Regions from separate parts of the Homo sapiens genome. Here region 1 is linked to region 2. Evidence: promoter capture Hi-C in human tissues and cell types (Jung and others, 2019). All regions are on one chromosome and are shown on one strand. The core of a region is centred on a gene start or on the middle of the fragment in contact, and the rest is flanking DNA. Distances in the headings are between cores, read along the strand shown. Region 1 overlaps HPS1 (HPS1 biogenesis of lysosomal organelles complex 3 subunit 1). Region 2 holds the start of LOXL4 (lysyl oxidase like 4).

What was found. The method cuts DNA at HindIII sites, captures the fragments that hold promoters and counts their contacts. A contact is called where the count stands out against the background at its distance.
Region 1: a contact is called between a fragment that was not itself captured here and the fragment with the promoter of LOXL4 in region 2, in 1 of the 25 tissues and cell types used here (mesenchymal stem cells).

What each region holds. Positions count from the first base shown.
Region 1 is chr10:98,435,927-98,439,311 of GRCh38, forward strand. The region is part of intron 3 of HPS1 (HPS1 biogenesis of lysosomal organelles complex 3 subunit 1); the gene reads right to left. Among named protein-coding and RNA genes, the nearest start is that of MIR4685, 6.3 kb to the left of the region's middle. The HindIII fragment of the contact is 6,299 bases long and covers 1-3,385 here.
Region 2 is chr10:98,266,159-98,269,710 of GRCh38, forward strand. LOXL4 (lysyl oxidase like 4) reads right to left here and starts at 2,036. Exons shown (of 15, transcript NM_032211.7): 1 at 1,974-2,036. LOC124902489 (a long non-coding RNA gene) reads left to right here and starts at 2,284. Exons shown (of 2, transcript XR_007062260.1): 1 at 2,284-3,552. RefSeq lists enhancers at 982-1,483, 1,484-1,983. The HindIII fragment of the contact is 18,964 bases long and covers 1-3,552 here.

The DNA of each region.
Region 1 (3,385 bases), core at 621-3,120, 170 kb after region 2:
CTGTCCCCAACACTTCGGGTGGTGGTTAGGAAGAATGGGGAGGGCCAGCTGGGTAATGGTGCTGTTTAGGCTCTGAATCTAGAAGGAAACATTAAGGAATTGGGCCTCATTACAACAGTGGAATGTGGGGAGCACTGAACGGGGAGCTGGAAGGAAGTTTGTAGCATGTACCAAAGTCTATGCTGTTTTTTGCAATAAGTCTACTTTGGAAAATTTGTCCTAAGGAAAATGATCAGAGATTGGGACAAAGATACATGCACAAAGATGTTCACTACTGCCTAATTTATAATAGCAAACAACTGGAAAAAAAATGTTAACATCTAGTATCAGGGAAATAGTTAAATAAATAGCAGCACATCAAAATTATGGAAGGGTCTATAGCCACTTAAAATATTAGAGTGTTTCAATGACATGGAAAATTCCTCTGATACAATGTTGTAGCTAAAAATAAAACAAGAATGTGAATGCATAGAAAAAACGAAGTATTGATAAAATACTGAGAAAGCCAACACTATTAAAGTTACTTCTGGATAGAGGAATTAGGAGTGATTTTTTTCCCTCTATTTTTAAGTATGTTTCTGTACTTTTCCTATTTTCCATAACAAGCCTGCATTGACTTTGATAAGCTCTTCCTCCATCCATTCTCTCAGCTCTCCAAAAGAAGGAACAAAACAAATAAACAAAAACAAAAAGGAACTGGACAAGTTTGTTGCAAATGTGTGAATAAAATGGGATAAAGCCAGTGGAACAGTTACAACTCAAATTCTCCGTAGTGGAATAAAAAGAAAGGAAGAAAACAGCAGACTTCCCAAGAAGATTTCAGGAGACGTGAATGAAATATGGGGAAGGCACAGTCCTAACTTGGAGCTGGGGAAGTCTACAAGAAGCTGAGTAAGACCTTGCCTTGAAAAGAAAGACAGGCAACTGGCCAGCGGGAAGGTGCAGCATTGAAGTACAAGTGGGACACAGCACTATGGAGTAGGTTTTCCTGCCAACATTCGGGAACCAAGGACTGTACCCAGCTCCCACAGTTAGTCTGTCCAGCTTTCACAGTGGCTCCTACTTATCATTCTGGTTCCAGCTCAGATTTTTTTTTTTCTGGCCACCTCAGGCTACCGCCCTCCACCTCTGTCACTCCCCATCCCATACCCCATTTAACTTCTCCAGACTATTTGTCACTATCTGAACTCATGGTACTTATTTGCCATCTGGTTCACTGTACAATGTCCTTCTTTAGACTCTAAGTTCCATGAAAGCAAGGATCATGTTGCTACGTTTACTGCTTTACCCCGAGAGACTGGCACATGGTAGGTTCCCAATTAATATTTGGTTAATGAATACCCCACAGATAGGCGAGAATTCCATAAACAGGCAAGAATTCAAATATTTGCTGAATTATTCATATACCATGATTTTCTTGAACAAATTTTATTAATAGAGAAGTCACTTATGAATCTAGATGTTGATAGAAACTCATCGTAAAAGCAGTATAGTCACATACTGAAGAGCAATGTTTTGGTCAGCAACAGACCACGCATGATAGTGGCCCCATAAGATTATACTGCTTTATTTTTGCTATACCTTCTCTATGTTCATTCAGATACACAAACATTTCCATTGTGTTACAACTGCCTGCAGTATTCAGTACAGTCACATGCTGTAGGTTTGCAGCCTAGGAGCAACAGGCCATACTGTACAGCCTAGGTGTGTAGTTGGCTACACCATCTAGGTTTGTGTAAGCACACACTATGATGTTCACATGACAAGGAAATCACCTAATGATGAGTTTGTTATTAACAGAATGTATCACCATCATTAAGCAGGGCATGACTATAGCTTTTTCTGCAGGAATAGAACTTTTTTTTGGTGAGGGGATGACATGGTTAAGCTTTGTGTCCCCATCAAATCTCATCTTGACTTGTAATCCCCATAATCCCCACGTGTCAAGGGAGACCTGGTGGAGATAACTGAATCATGGGGGTGGTTCCCCCAGGCTGTTCTCAACTTGTTCTCATGAAAATGAGTGAGTCCTCACCAGATCTGATGGTTTTATAAGGGGCTCTTCCCCACTTTTCTTGACACTTCTTCCTGCTGCCTTGCGAAGAAGGTGCCTTGTTTCCCCTTTGCCTTCCACCACGACTGTAAGTTTCCTGAGTTCTCCCCAGCCATGCTGAACTGTGAGTCAATTAAACCTTTTTTCTTTATAAATTACCCAGTCTCAGGCAGTTCTTTATAGTGGTACGAAAACGGACTGACACAGTAAATTGGTACCACAGAGAGTGAGGTGCTACTATAAAGATACCCAAAAATGTGAAAGTGACTTTGAAACTGGGTAACAGGCAGAGGTTGGAACAGTATGGAGGGCTCAGAAGAAAACAGGAAGATGTGGGAAAGTTTGGAACTTCCCAGAGACTCATTGAATGCTTTTGAACAAAATTCTGATAGTGATATGGACAATGAAGTCCAGGCTGAGGTAGTCTCAGATGGAGATGAGGAACTTATTTGGAACTGGAACAAAGGTGACTCTTGTTATGCTTTAGCAAAGAGACCGGCAGCATTTTGCCCCTGCCCTAGAGATCTGTGCAACTTTGAACTTGAGAGAGATGATTTGGGGTGGAAGAAATTTCTAGGTAGCAAAGCATTCAGGGAGTGACTTGGGTGCTCTAAAAAGCACTCAGTTTTATGCATTCACTAATAGATGGTTTGGAATTGGGACTTATGTTTAAAAGGGAAGCAGAACATAAAAGTTTGGAAAATGTGCAGCCTGATGATGCAATAGAAAAGAAAAGCCCATTTTCTGAGGAGAAATTCAAGCCCTGGCTGCAGAAATTTGCATAAATAATGAAGAGCCAAACGTTAATCACCAAGACAATGGGAAAAATGTCTCCAGGGCCTGTCAGAGGTCTTCACAGCAGGCCCTCTCGCCACAGGCCTGGAGGCCTAGGAAGAAAAAACTGTTTCAGGGGTTGGGCCCAGGGCCTTGCTGCTTTGTGCACTCTGGGGACATGGTGCCCTGCGTCCTAGCCATGGCTAAAAGGTGCCAACATATAGCTCTGGCTGTTGTTTCAGACAGTGCAAGCCCCAAGCTTTGGTGACCTACATGTGGTATTGGGCCCACGGGTGCACATAAATCAAAAACTGAGGTTTGGGAACCTCCACCTAGATTTCAGAGGATGTATGGAAATGGCAGGATGTCCAGGCAGAAATTTGCTACAGGGGCAGAGCCCTCATGGAGAACCTCTGCTAGAGTGATTAAGGGAATGTGGGGTCAGACACCTCCACACAGAGTCCCCACTGGGGCATTGCCTAGTGGAGCTGTAAGAATAGGGCCATCATCCTCTAGCCCCCAGAATGGTAGATCCACCGACAGCTTGCACCATGCACC
Region 2 (3,552 bases), core at 786-3,285:
TGGGACAGATCGGCCTCAGGTCCCTCAGCTATTAGGACCCAGTGGTCACATGGGTCTGGGCTGAGTGACAACCACACCTTCTCTACCACCCCCAGGAGTTGGAATGCTTCTATCTCTGCCGCCAAATTGTGTCTGGAGTCAAATATTTTCCTTTCTCTGAGTCTCAGCTGAAAAACCTGTAAAATGAGGGGGTGGCACTAGACAGCCCCCCTATCCGACATGCTCTGATGGGGCCCAGGGTAGGCTGGGCAGGTCTGCTGTTTGGCTCCTGGCTGAAGTCCCTGACACACTGAGGAGGTCTTGTTACAGGCTGTGGACAGTCCCAGGCCAGCAGCTCCTTCCTCTCCAAGGGACCAACCTGAGGGCATGGGAGGGCTTCTGCTGTAGGACCCTGGGGTCTGGGCCAGGGAAGCTCCCTTCCATGAACGCTGCTGGAAGGTGGGGGGACGGCAGCGGGAACCAAGAGTTAGATGCAGGGAGAGTCCCTCTTATTGGCCTTCCTGCCCACTATAGGCCCCCGAGAGCTTTTGCTCACACCAGACTATAGCCTTCGTCTCCCAGCCTCCAAGCCTTTGCTCTCACTGTTCCTTTCCCTCTATCTAAGACTGTTAAACTCCTACACATCCCACAAGGCCAGCTCAAATGCCACCCCCTCCATTAAGCCCTCCCACAAAGCCTTCCACAAAGCACATTGTGTGTTTGCTTCCTGACCCCACAACCAGACTCCACCTGTCTGTTCCCCTAGCACTGAGCACAGAGGACCAAGCTGTGCATCCTCCCTCAGAGAAGGAAGCGGCCTCGAAAGTGGCCGTTACTTTCCCAAATAAAGGAGAAGGGGACAGAAGAGGGAAGGAAGGTGGAAGGGAAAGAGGAGGGGAGGGAAGTGAGGATAATAACTATACATTTTAAAATACGGATTAAATACTTATCTCCATTTTACAGATGAGAAGGTAAGGTCCAGGGAAGTCAAGTAACTTGCCCAGCCAGGATTCAAACCCAAGCAGCCTGGCTAGACGCCGGACTCTCAAAACCACCAAGAATGGATGTTGGAAGAGGGGGAGGAGGAAAGGAAGGCCGGGAGCCGACTGAAATTCCACCCTGTTCTGGTGGATTTATGACCCAGGCCGTGGTGTGAGGGCACTGGGCAGGGTGCTCTTCGCTGAATGCCGAGTGACAGATCCAAGATCTTGCCAGCTTGAGGCACAGAGGCACCTGCTCCAGGTGTGCCAGGAGATGCTGGGACCTGGCCTGACCTAGCGCAGGTAGGGAGGGCTGAAGACAGCAAATGCCCGAGTATTCAAGAGAGAGCATGGGGGGTGCTGTCCTGAGGGTGCAGCAACTTTAGGATGGCTCATCCCTTCTCTGCCGTTGGGCAGCTCTTCTCAGCAGCCTCCTCTCAGCCCTGTAGCCTCCCCGGGGTTACTGACTCTGTGGACCTGAAGCAGTGCCAACAAATGGTCTCTGAGCTGTACCTGTCCAGGCTAGGAAAGAGGGGGCTTGAAGTCTTCTGCCCCCTTCCCTTCGGTGTTTCTGTCACACGCCGACCCCCCAACATAATCAGCTCCGGTCTGGATAGTTGGAGAGCCCAGATCAGCCCTGGTTCGTTGTCCCCCAAGTCGTAAGTGTGACATCTGAACCCGCCTTGCCCCTTCCCTGTCTCCTCCCTGGAAGAAGGCAGAGCAATGGTTACACACGGCGTGTACACAAACAAGACACGCAGGCACCCCTGAGGCCTGGGCGCACCACTCAGGGCGGGCCTTGGGCCAAGCTCCCCAGCGTGGTCACTTGTCCAGTTGGAAGCAGGTTGGTGAGCGACTGGAGGGCCGGGCTGAGGGTCCAAGGGATCCCCCATGCACCCTAGGCCCAGTCTCCAGGAACCCTCAGAGGCCTGCAGACTCACAGAGAGACAGAAGGACAGATGGGACAGCAAGAGGCAGACCAAGAGGCAGACGCGCGGCCAGGCGGGGGCTCACCAGATGGAGCGCGGACAGTCCGGGGCTGGGCGGGCGCCGCGGCGGAGCAGCGCTAACGGGCTCCCTCCCCGGGCGCCCTGGGGCCTTTTTATCCGCCTCCCGCCCGCGGCCCCCCAGCCCCGAGCTGGCCGCGGAGGAGGCCCCGCAGGCCCCGCCCCGGGCGGGCCTGGAGTCCGCGGGCGCCCCGCCCGGCCTTCCGCGCGGCGCCCCCCGTCGGGACACAGGCCAGGTGGCGGGGGCGCCCAGCCGCAGCCGGCGGGGCCGGGAAGTCCCGGGGGGCGGGGGGAGCGGGGGGGCGGCGGGGGGTCGCGGGGAGCGGAGCTCTCGGGAAAGGGCGGCGCTGGGCCCGCGGCTGTTTTGCAGGGAGGGCCGCGGCGGCCTCGGGAGTCCCTCTCCCAGGCAGTTTCCTCTTTTGCAGAACAAGGTAATGACGCCCACCTAGAGTCCCAGTCTGTGAGTCCTGGTGGGTGCCAGGGCCCCCGGCACAGCACCCTTCGCACGGGAGCGCCCGGCTGTCACAGGGGCCGAATCTCACGAGCTCGGTCACTTAGGACAATGTAGACGCCCTTTCTGGGAGGCCGGGGCTCAGTTCAGAGAGGTCGAGGTGGCGCGGTGCAGCGGTGCTCTCCTGCAGGAACAGGCGAGTCACCCAGAGTTTACTGAATACCGCCCCCCCCCCCCCCCCCGCCCTCCGTGTGAAACTCTGCGCTGCCCATTGTGCAGCTGGGAACACTGAGCCCCAGGCGACATAACTTGCTCCTCCAGGCAATACACAGTGAATGGGAGAACCCCTTCACAGAGCTGAATGATGCAGTCCTGGCCCTTGTCAGACTCACGGGAGGAGGGTGTTAGTGCAGGGAGCAGGGACTGTAGAATTAAAGAAATGTGGACATGGCTGACAGAGAGGAGTCCCATCAGCTGAACTGAGCACCTAGGTGCCTGAACCCCAGTCCAAGCCCCCAGTTTCTTTCCCCTAGACCTGGTCCTGCCCTTAGCCTCACTGGCCCCATCTGTAAAATGGGCAGAGGGTTCCAGCCTCCCGGTTTCCTCCCTAGGCCCACAGCTGCCCAACCTGGTTCCCCCTCTTGCCCCCACCTTGCCTAAACGTCCTTCCAAAGGTTCATTCATCCCACAAGCCTTTATTGATTTTCTCCTACATGCTAGACAGGGTGCTGGAGTGCTAGACGCTGGAGGGGGCCTTCCCAGTCTGGTGGGGGAGGCAGATGTGCAAGTAAGAATAAGCCTGGACAGGCAGAGTGTGATAGAGCTAGGATGTCAAGATGGACCTTTTCGATCCTGGGTGACAGCCAGGTCTTAATGACCCTGCTGCCAGGGACCTGCCATCCACTCCTGGCTGCCCGTGTCCAAGATGTCCCCCCAGTGCCCCTGCCCCACCCCAGCTGGGCCCAAAACATTCCCCATGATGAATCAGCAGGAAAGAATGCTCCCAGCCTCGGGTCAGTGGCAGCAGCCCAGCTCCTCCCCCAGGGACAATGAGGCAGCTGTGGGCTTGGGTGCCAGGTATGCCTAAGCCCTCTCCTAGGGCCCAGCCACCTCTCATGCTGAGCCAGAAGCAACA